Regions from separate parts of the Homo sapiens genome. Here region 2 is linked to region 1. The links are contacts of gene promoters, found by promoter capture Hi-C in human tissues and cell types (Jung and others, 2019). All regions are on one chromosome and are shown on one strand. The core of a region is centred on a gene start or on the middle of the fragment in contact, and the rest is flanking DNA. Distances in the headings are between cores, read along the strand shown. Region 1 holds the start of ZSCAN4 (zinc finger and SCAN domain containing 4). Region 2 overlaps ZNF606 (zinc finger protein 606).

Region 1 (6,624 bases), core at 1,045-3,544:
GGGCTTTATGATCTCTAATGACACCCAGCTACATATTTCATATAATGCAATACAAAGGAATTACTAAGCTGGGCACAGTGGCTCACATCTGTAATCCCAGCACTTTTGGAGGCTGAAAGTGGGCAAATCACTGGAGGCCAGGAGTTTGAGACCACACTGGGCAACATGGCAAAATCCTGCCTCTACAAAAAATAGAAAAATTAACCTGGTGTGGTGGTGTGCGCCTGTGGTCCCAGCTGCTCAGGAAGCTAAGGTGGAAGGATCACTTGAGCCTGGGGAGGCTGAAGCTGCAGTGAGCTGTGATTGGGGCTACTAAACTTTAGCCTGGGTGATAGAGATCTTGTCTCGAAAAAAAAAAAAGAATTACTAGAACATAAAGTCATACGATAGACTTTTTGAAGAAAAATCTTCAGTCACACCAGGCCTTTATACAGAGTTCACAACATCAAGCCCTTTTGGGTCAGAGCTGTTGTAACAAAAGACCATTCCCTACACCTGGGAGACCCCCATATCTCTGTAGTTAGGAATTTTCCTGAAATAGCTATGCCTACATACACATGTATACACACTCAAAGACACAAAATTATGTATACACACTCAAAGACACAAAATGTATACACACTCAAAGGCACAAAATTTTCCTTCCATTATGGAAGCTTACCTCCTTGGTTGACTGGGTAATCCCGGGCCGAACACTGAGCTGATGTGTGACTAGCTTTCCACACTGGGTTTATCTGATGTGCCTCCTAAGGCTGCTCCCTTTTATAGGGGCTGGGATCAGTGATTGATTTAAAGACGTGATTGGATAACACTTGTCTGTTGATTGAATTACTGATGGAATCTTCATCCAGCCCCAGCTCCATGTCAGTGATTGATTTAAAGACGTGATTGGATAACACTTGTCTGTTGATTGAATTACTGATGGAATCTTCATCCAGCCCCAGCTCCATGTCTCTAATACAGTGTTCTATACCATCACTGGTCCTGGGTCAACAGGTCATAAACAAACACATTAATATTTCTGCAGGCTAGGTGCAGTGGCTCACACCTGTAATCTCAGCACTTTGGGAGGCTGAGGCAGGCAGATCACCTGAGATCAGGAGTTCAAGACCAGCCTGGCCAACATGGTGAAACCCTTTCTCTACTAAAAATACAAAAATTAGCCGGGCATGGTGGTGGGCACCTGTAATCCCAGCTACTTGGGAGGCTGAGGCAGGAGAATTACTTGAACCTGGGAGGCAGAGGCTAGAGTGAGCCAAGATTGCGCCACTGCATTCCAGCCTGGGAGACAGAGCAAGACTCTGTGAATCCCTAGCCTGAGCAACAAAGCAAGACCCTGTCTCTACCAAAAATAATGTTAAAAATGTTAGCCAGGCATGGTGGCATGTCTGTGTAGCTTGTTTGAGCCAGGGAGTTCATGGCTACAGTGGATTATGACCGCCCTACTGAACTCTGGCCTGGGAAATGGAAGGAGACCAAGTCTCTAAAAAAAAAACAAAACAAAACGAACAAAAAAAAAACCATGCCTGTAATCCCAGCACTTTTGGAGGCCGAGGTGGGCGGATCACGAGGTCAAGAGTTCGAGACCAGCCTGGCCAATATGGTGAAACCCCATCTCTACTAAAAATGCAAAAATTAGCCAGGCGTAGTGGCGCGTGCCTGTAGTCCCAGCTATTCAGGAGGCTGAGCAGAAGAATTGTTTGAACCACAGAGGCGGAGGTTGCAGTGAGCTGAAATTGTGCCACTGCACTGCAGCCTGGGCGACAGAGGTAGACTGTCTCAAAAACCAACAAACAAACAAACACACACAAAAATACAAAATCTGCGGTAAAATGTAACAAGGTCCACATTAAATGAAAATATAAAGACAGGCTGGGTGTGGTGGCTCGCGCCTGTAATCCCAGCACTTTGGGAGGCCGAGGCAGGTGGATCATGAGGTCAGGAGTTTGAGACCAGCCTGACCAACATGGTTAAACCCGGTTTCTATTAAAAATACAAAAATTATCTGGGCGTGGTAGCATGCACCTGTAATCCCAGCTACTCAGGAGGCTGAGGCAGAAGAATTGTTTGAATCCAGGAGGCAGAGGTTGCAGTGAGCCGAGATTACGCCACGGCACTCCAGCCTGGACGACAGAGCGAGACTGTGTCTCAAAAAAAAAAAAAAAAAAAAGGAAAATATAAAGACAAACGTTAGTCTCACAAATTCTGATCAAGTTTTATTATAAATTACTCATAGAAACATGACAAACTTTTGCTCAAACTTTTAAGTTTTCAGAGATTTATGAATTACAAGGGTGGCAGAGGGCAAGGCTAATGCTGTGACTCCTGTGCCAATTCCAGGCTGGTGAAACAGAGGGGGCCCGGGACCCAGAGAAGGCATTCCTAATCCATCAAAAAGATGACAGGGGTTGAGACTAGGATTATATCAGTGGAAAGGGAGAAATTGGTGCATATTTTATATTGAGAAAGCATATGATGTTTGATAGACTTAACATGAGGCTTGAGAGAGATGGAGGAGTTAAAATGGTGAGAAGCGCCTGGTCACCTAGTGTGGTGGAAGCTGTGCCTTCTTCCCTGCACTCTCCCTCCCCACTTTCCACCCTCATACAGGCTGAGGCTTTGGTGGAGTTGAGAACGTATCGAAGGGGTGGGAGCTAATTACAGCCATGTGTTTCATCTGCTCCATCAGGCATGCAGCCTCTTGGGGCTTAGATTGTCCCCCTATCACTGTTGGGTACAGAGTTTGAATCTCCTGGTACTCCACTGATGAAATGTCTGCTTGACTTCCCCACATTAGGAATTATGTTCTGAATCCTCACATTATAAGACTGTGTACTAGTCCATTTCTCCAAGGAGTTTCATCCACATATACTCCATACAGAGAAGTATCCCTGCTCCCATCAAGAGCCAATTTTCCACTGGTGGTTTAGGTCCTGTCACCAACTATGTCATTAAACCAACTGTGACAGGAAAATTGGCTCTTGATGGAAGCAGGGATACTTCTCTGCTACAACAATGAAAAATGGGCTGGGCGCAGTGGCTCATGCCTGTAATCCCAGCACTTTGGGAGGCCGAGGCGGGTGGATCACCTGAGGTCAGGAGTTTGAGACCAGCCTGGCCAACATGATGAAACCTCGTCTCTACTAAAAAAATACAAAAATTAGCCAGGCATGGTGGCAGGCACCTGTAATCCCAAGTACTCGGGAGCCTGAGGCAGGAGAATCACTTGAACCTGGGAGGCCGAGGTTGCAGTGAGCCAAGATCGCACCACTGCTCTCCAGCCTGGGCGACAGAGTGAGACTCTGTCTCAAAAACAAACAAACAAACAAACAAAAAACAAACAAAAAAAAAACAATGAAAAATGTAGACAATGTGAGTACCACTGGAGGCCAGTTGTTAATTTGTGGTGGGTTGAAAGCATTTCCTGTCTGCTTCTGCAGTCTCAAGGAGTTCCTTGAGCTCTGTAAGGAGCTGTAAGGAAAAGGTTTGGGGAAAAGCTGGCAATTTCTGTTTGGAGGAGGTTATTGGATTTTTGAGTTCAGATATACAGCCAGCTGTTGGACATGCTGGTGTGTAACTCTGGGAGCAGTTAGACCTGAGGCACGATGATATCAGTAAGAGTAGTAATAGCATCAGGGATCATAATAACTAACCTTTAAGCAGTCAGGGCATATTTGACTCTGTTCTCAGTGCTTTCTGTATGTTAACCCATTTCCATCACAACAGTCCTGTAAAGTAGATCCTAAATAACTCCATTTTAACATCAAAATAACAGAGGCACAGAGAAGTTCAGTACCTTGGCCAGTGCTACATAGCCTGTAAGTGGCTGGGCTAGGATTTGATACCTGGCTCCAGAGTGGGACTCTGAATGCTACATTAAGAAGGCAAAGACACACAGCCACTGTGTAAAACCAGCAGCTTTCTAGGGAATGGGCTAATGGAGGAGTGAAGGGCATGAGCAGGAGGATTTATCCTTGGGGAAACACAGATGGTGGAGGAAATGACCTGGTGATACCCCAACTTAGGCATAGAATAAACAGGCACAAAACAATAAAAATAAATGTGAAATCCACATAGTAATTTAATCAAATAAGGATATTACAAAGACAACTATCAAATGCTTTTCTGATCAATTGGGAAGGCAGGTAGTGCTGCCTTTGGTAAAAATAGATGACCCGTTTACATCCAGCATCATCTCAACTTGTGTCTGGTGAGTATCCCCGCTCCAGTGTGAGTGAGGAAAATAACCTTTGTTTCCAAGAAGACAAAGCCAATCCGCCTCAGTATGTAGGAAACAGTGATTTCAATTAGAATAATAATAATAATAATAAAAACCTGGTAGGAAAATAAACAAAACTGTTAACTTTCTATTTTTTTCGAGACAAAGTCTTGCTCTGTCGCCCAGGCTGGAGTGCAGTGGCACGATCTTGGCTCACTGCAACTTCCGCACCCAGAGTAGCTGTGATTAAAGGCATGCGCCACCACACCCGGCTAATTTTTGTATTTTAGTAGAGACGGGGTTTCACCATGTTGGCCAGGATAGTCTCAAACTCCTGATCTCAGGTGATCCGCCCACCTCAGCCTCCCCAGGTGCTGGGATTACAGGCGTGAGCCACCACACCTGGTGACTTTCTTTTCTTTTTTTTTTTTTTTTGAGAAAAAATATTTAGTCAATTTATTTATTATTTATTGATTTTTGGTTGTTGCACCTACTTTAATAACAACTTCAAAAAAGGAACAACATTCATCCGGTTCTAAATGTCTTTATGAACGCAAAGACTGGGGTCCCCTGCCAGCTTCCGAGGCAGCCCTGCACCTCCCGTAGGTGGCCGCACTTGGACCGCACCACTCCATTAGCTAAAAGCTACAACAGTCGTAAAGAGAAGGAAAGAACTGGAGAGCCAGCACGCGAAGCTTATCCAATGCTTCCAGTCATACAAGCAAGCTGCAGGATCTCATGGAGGTGCGTGGATCACCCCGTGGAAATTCTCCAGGGCGCATCGAAGCTTAGCATGTTTAGTGGAGACTTGGACAAAGCCCCGAGTCTGTACAGGACCTGTAGGAACCATGGCAGGCATCGGCTGCTTCATAAGGATCTGATATGGTTCCTTTTTAAAAAGCGCATTCTTCAAAAGGCAAACTACCCAATTTCCTTTTAAATATGAATACAATACAACTTATAATACATACACTTGTCAAAATTGTGTGCAAAGAACTGCCAAAGTGACTTTCTCAAATTAAAAAATTGTCCTAAGATGATTTTCTGTAAACCTACTTGGGCCTCGCAAAGATATTTTAAGTATCAGTATTATTATTGAGACGGAGTTTCACTCTTGTTGCCCAGGCTGGAGTGCAGTGGCACGATCTCGGTTTACCACAACCTCCACCTCCCGGGTTCAAGCAATTCTCCTGCCTCAGCCTCCGGAGTAGCTGGGATTACTGACGTGGGCTGCCCAGCTTATTTTGTATTTTTAGTAGAGATGGGGTTTCTCCATTTTGGTCAGGCTGGTCTCGAACTCCTGATCTGGTGATCCACCCGCCTCAGCCTCCCAAAGTGTTGGGATTACAGGAGTGAGCCACCGCGCCCGGCCTTGGATTAATTTTAGAAAAAGGGTGACTTTAGGTCAAACACACATTTACAAAAGAACAATGATTCACCCAGGAGCTGACAGGTGCAGACTGATGTCAGTGAACTTGTCTGCTGGCTGCTTTTGTATGAGCTTTAAAAAAAAAAGTATTAAAATTTAAAATACAAAATTTGACACCAAGTGTAAACATATTTGTGTCTGCAGACACTGGAGATACCAGGTGCCTCCCTGTATTTAGCAGCCTACACAAATGGTAAGGGGTGTGCTGCGGGATTTAGCCTGCTGGAGTGGCTGGGATGGGAAGAACCGCCAGAAGCCAAGTAGATACACTCCAGGAAAAGTATCAGAACTGAAGTTACAGAAAATGGAATCCTAGCAGCACAGTGGCAGCTAGATTCTTTTTGCTTTTGTCTGTAGCTTGCATTAGCAGAGTGCAATATGCAATTACTATCCACTTTACTATTCTAATCGTGCAGAGATCCCAAAAGGTAAAAGACCCCTATGCTTCCAGCCAGCAGCGGCTTTGCATGAGGACTGCCAGGCTCTCAGACCCCACATCCCTTGGCCTTCTTAGTGGGGAGAGCTCCCAGAATGCCGCTGGCTAAAAGCCTATTTTGCCCCTGGTCAGTCATGGAATAGCCCAGTTTAGCCTCATTGTTAATGAAGGACATCAATCCCAGGCCGGTCTCCATGAGGAGGGGGCGCTCCACGACCAGCACGCGTGCGCTTGTCCTGGAAAAGGACTTTCCTTTTTGGCGTTTTTGACCTTGGATTCACAGAGCCTTGAAGCTTTTCATCTGGCAGAGTTGCTGTGTTCTCATCCGCAGCAGCCATAGCGTGTTGTATGAAATTGGCACAGGGTACGTTTGTGGACCAGGGATTCCATCTGTTTAAGAAGGAAAGGCGACTTCGCTTGCCCCACTGAATTCGAATCCCAAAACCTTCTCGCTTGTTGAGCGATTTAGGGGGAAATTGGAATTCTCCGCAGGAGACGGCATGCCATCCGGGCCGCCTGCCAGCCCTGGAGTCAGATGAA
Region 2 (6,442 bases), core at 1,030-3,529, 310 kb before region 1:
TAAACAAAAAATAATGGACTTGGGTGGTAAAAGGGGGGAAATTACATATAGTAAAGAGAAAAAAAGAAGCAGAGAGAGAGGGCAAGGTCTAGTTCTTGTTGGGACCTGCCTGGGGCTTTAGACCCTGTAGCAATCTGGATAATGACTTCCCCCACAAAGATATCTGCATCCTAATCTCCAGAATTTGTGAATGGGGCACCTTGTATGGCAAAAGGGACCTTCAGATGAGAGTAAATTAAGGATCTTGCTGTGGGGAGATTATCCTGGATTGTCTGAGTGGATTCTAAATGTACTCACAAGGGTCCTTTTATAAGATTGTGGTGGGAGGGTCAGAGACATGGGAGAGGATGTGATGACAGAAGCAGAGGTTGGAGTGATGAGCTTTGCAGATGGAGGAAGGAGCTGCGAGCCAAGGAATTGGGGCAGCTTCTAGAAGATGGAAAGGGCAAGGATATGGTGGATTCCTTAGAGCTTCTGGAGGGAGCACAACCCGGCCAATAACTCCATTTTAGCCCAGTGAAAGCCGTTTTGGACTTCTGACTTCCAGAACGGAAAGATCATAAATTTGTGTTACCTTAAGTTACTAAATGTGTGGTAATTTGTTACAATAGCAGAAAGAAACTAATATAGCCTCCTTTGGTTGTTAGAGGATTGATACTTAAGCAGTGATAATAGGCAGTTCCTGTGTATTAAACTTGCCAGGAGTTTGGCTGGATTCTGAGTCTCGACTTTAGTCATCAGAAAAGCTCTCTAAGGATAGCAGCAGGGCCATTGTTCACATACAGATTAGCAGACTGTAACTCCTGTGTCTGTTTTTTCACACTATGCTGTCTTCCTAGTCCATCTATCATTGCTCTAAAAATATTCTGTGGTGGATAGAAGTGTAACTTTAGGGGTATCCATAAACTCTGGTGATGTTTGCCCTTTGGGTTGGTGGATCTTGTGTGATTGACTGGATTCTGTGACATAGGAAACAAAGCATTTTGTCATAGATAACATCCTGGCTTGAAGCCTCGCTTGGTGATACTCTCTAAACACCCCTCTCCTCCTTTTTTCTGCACTTGTCAAGATATGGGAGTAGAAGGACATTATAACACAGAAGTGAGAGCACTCATGATGTAAATATTACTTGCTAAAGGCCTTGTGTGCTCATCTACCTAACTTTTGTTAAGATGAAAGGCTTTATTCTTTTTTTTTCTTTTTTAACCTTAATAACATTCACTGGGTCCTTTTGTCAGGGGTCTTCAAGACCACCTCCAGGTTCACTGATTCACTATGAGTACTTATAGGACTCAAAAGTCATTATACTCAGGATTATGGTGTATTACAGTGAAAGGATACAAAGCAACATCAGCAAAGGAAAAAGGTGCATGAGGTTAGACCAGGTGCAAGCTTCCAGTAGCGTACATGGGGCACACTTAATTCCTCAAGCAAGGAGTTGTGACAACACGTGCGAAATTTCTACTAGGAAACTTGCCTGAGTCTAGGAGTCCAGTGTGTTTATTGAGAGGTTGCTCATCCAGGCACACAGTGCCTGCGTGACTCACTGCCATCGCTGAAACTCCAGACCACCCTGAGGGAAAGCAGGTGATCACTATGAATGACATTGTTTGCACACATATCTAAATAAGTTAAAAGTAAATGTGCTTCAATACCTTGAGCATGCAAAACACTCTTACTAGTTAGAACATTCCAAGATCTTAATTCCTAGGAGTTGGCTAAGGGCCAGTTAGGAAACAGGCTACCTTTGCAAGGTTTGAGCACGTCAGGCCTGCAGAGTTAACTCTTTCTTGCACATTTTTTTTTTTTTTTTTTTTGAGACGGTGTATCGCTCTGTCGCTCAGGCTGAAGTGCAGTGGCGCGATCTTGGCTCACTGCAAGCTCTGCCTCCCGGGTTCATGCCATTCTCCTGCCTCAGCCTCCTGAGCAGCTGGGACTACAGGCACCCGCCACCACACCTGGCTAATTTTTTGTATTTTTAGTAGAGACAGGGTTTCACTGTGTTAGCCAGGATGGTCTTGATCTCCTGACCTCATGATCCGCCCGCCTCGGCCTCCCAAAGTGCTGGGATTACAGGCGTAGCCACCTCGTCCGGCCTCTTTCTTGCACATTCTTATACTGGTCTTCCTTTTCATGGAAAGTACTTTTAAATGGTTTCATTAGTTTTCAGTACACACTTTGTATTCTGGTTAACTGTTGTTTACTTTTCACTATTCTTTTCCCTATTATGATCTTTCTCTGAGTTCTAAGCCTGGACTTGAAAACAAATTTATACTAGTGTTTTTGATAATATGGACAGTAAATCTCACCATTCCCACTTTATTCTAATGTCTTTCTCTATGCTCTCATAGCTTTTTTTCTGTCTGTTTCAGAATGGGTGAGAAATCTTGAAAGCAAAGCATTGATCCCAGCACAGAGCATTTTTGAGGAAGAACAATCCCATGGCATGAAGTTGGAAAGATATATATGGGATGATCCTTGGTTCTCCAGGTTAGAAGTTTTGGGATGTAAAGACCAATTAGAAATGTACCACATGAACCAGAGTACAGCTATGAGGCAGATGGTCTTCATGCAAAAGCAAGTACTATCCCAGAGAAGCTCTGAATTCTGTGGACTTGGGGCAGAGTTTAGCCAGAACTTAAACTTTGTTCCATCTCAGAGAGTTTCTCAGATAGAACATTTCTATAAGCCTGATACACATGCTCAAAGTTGGAGATGTGACTCAGCCATAATGTATGCAGATAAGGTTACCTGTGAAAATAATGATTATGACAAAACTGTTTATCAGTCCATTCAACCTATTTACCCTGCAAGAATACAAACTGGAGATAATCTTTTCAAATGTACTGATGCTGTTAAATCTTTCAATCATATAATACATTTTGGTGATCATAAAGGAATTCACACAGGAGAAAAACTCTATGAATATAAGGAATGCCATCAAATCTTTAACCAGAGCCCATCATTTAATGAACACCCAAGGCTTCATGTTGGAGAAAACCAGTATAATTACAAAGAATATGAGAATATCTTTTATTTCTCATCCTTTATGGAACATCAAAAAATTGGTACTGTAGAGAAAGCGTATAAATACAATGAATGGGAGAAAGTCTTTGGGTATGACTCTTTCCTTACTCAACATACAAGCACTTACACTGCAGAGAAACCCTATGACTACAATGAATGTGGGACGTCTTTCATCTGGAGCTCTTACCTTATTCAACATAAGAAAACTCATACTGGAGAAAAACCCTATGAATGTGATAAATGTGGAAAAGTTTTTAGGAATCGCTCAGCCCTTACGAAACATGAACGGACTCACACTGGAATAAAACCCTATGAATGTAATAAATGTGGAAAAGCCTTCAGCTGGAATTCTCATCTTATTGTACATAAGAGAATTCATACAGGAGAAAAACCTTATGTTTGTAATGAGTGTGGGAAATCTTTCAACTGGAACTCTCATCTTATTGGACATCAGAGGACTCATACAGGAGAGAAACCTTTTGAATGTACTGAATGTGGGAAATCATTCAGCTGGAGCTCCCATCTTATTGCCCATATGAGAATGCATACTGGAGAGAAACCCTTTAAATGTGATGAATGTGAAAAAGCTTTTAGGGACTACTCAGCCCTTAGTAAACATGAAAGAACTCATTCTGGAGCAAAACCATATAAATGTACTGAATGTGGAAAATCCTTCAGCTGGAGCTCCCATCTTATTGCCCATCAGAGAACTCACACGGGAGAGAAACCATATAACTGTCAGGAATGTGGCAAAGCATTCAGAGAACGCTCAGCCCTCACTAAACATGAGATAATTCATTCTGGAATTAAGCCCTATGAATGTAATAAATGTGGAAAATCCTGTAGCCAGATGGCTCACCTTGTTAGACATCAAAGGACTCATACTGGAGAAAAACCCTATGAATGCAATAAATGTGGAAAATCCTTCAGTCAGAGCTGTCACCTTGTTGCTCATCGGAGAATTCACACTGGTGAGAAACCCTATAAATGTAATCAGTGTGAAAGATCCTTTAACTGTAGTTCTCACCTCATTGCACACCGGAGAACTCATACTGGAGAGAAACCATACAGGTGTAATGAATGTGGGAAAGCATTTAATGAGAGTTCATCCCTTATTGTACACCTAAGAAACCATACTGGAGAAAAGCCCTACAAATGTAATCATTGTGAAAAAGCATTTTGTAAGAATTCTTCCCTTATTATTCATCAGAGAATGCATAGTGGAGAGAAACGCTTTATATGCAGTGAATGTGGAAAAGCCTTTAGTGGTCACTCAGCCCTACTTCAACACCAGAGAAATCACAGTGAAGAGAAACTGAATTGAATTTATGCGAGTTTTTCGTTTCTTGTACATTTGACAACACATTGAGGAAAACCCTATAAACATAATCAAGAGGGGACATTTTTCATTAAGAGTTCAGTAAGACTTCTCCCACATTATTTACTAGAAAATATCATCTTAGAAGAAACCCCATGAAGGAAAAGAATAGGGAAAAGCTTTCAGCAGTTATTTAGCCCTTACTCAAAATCAGATAATTAACAATGAAGGAAACTCTAAACTCCCCTTATGGTCTACCAGTAATTCATACTTGAGGACCATGACTGTGGGGAATGAGGCATCTTTTAGCAAGAGCTCTCACCAATTGTAGATTGGTGTGAATTGCTAAGGGAAAAACCTTATGCAGAGAAAAGTTTTTGACTGGAAATACACTGTTTTGCATCAAGCTGGAGTACTGGATGGAAAACTCTACAATAACATTTTGTGCATAATTGTAGAAATACAGATTTTGTTGTTATAAGGGGAGGGTCTGGGTGCCCAGGAGTAGAATATGAAGTGCTAAATCTGAATGTAAGAAAAATAATAGTATTGAATGGGGTATTTACTGTTGATTAACCTCCTTAGAGAAAATTAATGAATGAGATGACTAACGGTAGAAAAGTTATTGCCTAGGAGTGTGAGACTGATGTTGCTGGACAGAAAGTGATCCTTAGCCCAGTGTGTCAGCGTCCATTGTTACTCATCACTGCATTGTTGGGCAATTAGTTTGTAATTTGTTTTAGGCAATCACTATAAATTATAATTATGGACACTGCATCAGTATACATAACATGAAGGAATAAAAAGGATACAGAATTGTATATACATACTTACTGTAACACATCTAAAAAAATGTATATGGGTAAGGACCTGAAAGATCCATGGAAAAGTTAACCCAGTTGAGATTTTTAAAAAGTTTTACAAATACATATAACACTTATGTGCTGGGCTTTCTTTTAAATGCTTTCCAAGTGTTAACTTGTTTAGTCCCCTTTACTCTGAGATAGGTACTGTTACCCCAGTTTTACAAATGGCTAAGCTGAAGCAGAGATGTTGAAGGATCCTACCTAAGGGGCACAACTAGTAAGGGAGTAGAGCTGAGATTGGCTCCAGAGTTCTTGTTTTCAGCCACCATTTTATGCTGCCTCTCCAGTGATTTTTTTTCCCATTTTCTTCAGTGTTTCTATAGCAGAGATTTGATAATAAAAAGAAAATCCTAAACAATGAGAAATAAAGTTACCTGGTTTCTCTGTCTCGAAGGATTTATAGTAACATGAGAACTAGTATCCCTTTGGAATATGAAGTCTGTGTTGGACATTCAGAATCACTGCATTTTCTGGGACCTGAGTTCCCTAGAACTTTGCTGCCTGCAACCCCAAGGATAACAGGGCAGCAGGGCCTGGAGGACTTGCTGGAGGACTGGGCAAGTCCCTTGGTGGGTTTAGAATGCCACTTACAGAGCAGAGGGCAGGGGTGTTTGTTCCTTTCCATAACTAGACACCACTGCACTTCAGAGCACCATTACCCAAGGTTTACCTTGAATTCGGTCTTTTATTTTTTTGAAATCTTCTGCAGATGAAAGGCTTACTTGAAGGAGCAGGATTCAGAAGGGAAGAGAGCTAGCCAGTCCACCTAGAGTAATGAAGTCTCAGTGTTCACAGGGGAAAAGGGGAAAGATGGATCAGAAGACTTGGGTGGCTTCTCTCCAGTTCATAAGTATTTCTAAAACTGGGGGCCAAGGATCCTTCCTGGATAGGCTTCAAGGGTATTGAGTGGAACTTGGGCTCATAAAGCTCATCTAATTTTTAAAGGGCCCATGGCTTCCCAGTGGTTGAGAAATGATGGCCTAGTGATGTCATTGGGAGGCTGTTATTTTCACCTTCTGACTCTTCTAGCTTGGGCTCACTTAGGTGTGTAACATTTGATTGTAGTCCTTTCAAGGCCTGACACATTAGTGGTCACCTGATAAATGTGGCAGGGGCAAGTTAGTTATTGATGGATTTTTTTTTTACATGATTTGTGCAAAGGCCCTTGGAGAGAATGAAGTTAGCAGTATTATCTCATCTTGGAGAAAGCAGCATAATATATCCAGAATCA

What was found. The method cuts DNA at HindIII sites, captures the fragments that hold promoters and counts their contacts. A contact is called where the count stands out against the background at its distance.
Region 2: a fragment that was not itself captured here is called in contact with the fragment with the promoter of ZSCAN4 in region 1 in 1 of the 25 tissues and cell types used here (pancreas).

The regions. Positions count from the first base shown.
Region 1 is chr19:57,664,605-57,671,228 of GRCh38, reverse strand. ZSCAN4 (zinc finger and SCAN domain containing 4) reads right to left here and starts at 2,294. Exons shown (of 5, transcript NM_152677.4): 1 at 2,026-2,294; 2 at 662-984. It also overlaps the pseudogene TPRG1LP1. The HindIII fragment of the contact is 8,369 bases long and covers 1-5,692 here.
Region 2 is chr19:57,976,210-57,982,651 of GRCh38, reverse strand. It overlaps ZNF606 (zinc finger protein 606), which reads left to right. Exons shown (of 7, transcript NM_001348022.3): 7 at 2,373-5,576. The coding sequence ends at 4,351. Among named protein-coding and RNA genes, the nearest start is that of C19orf18, 4.9 kb to the right of the region's middle. The HindIII fragment of the contact is 3,581 bases long and covers 489-4,069 here.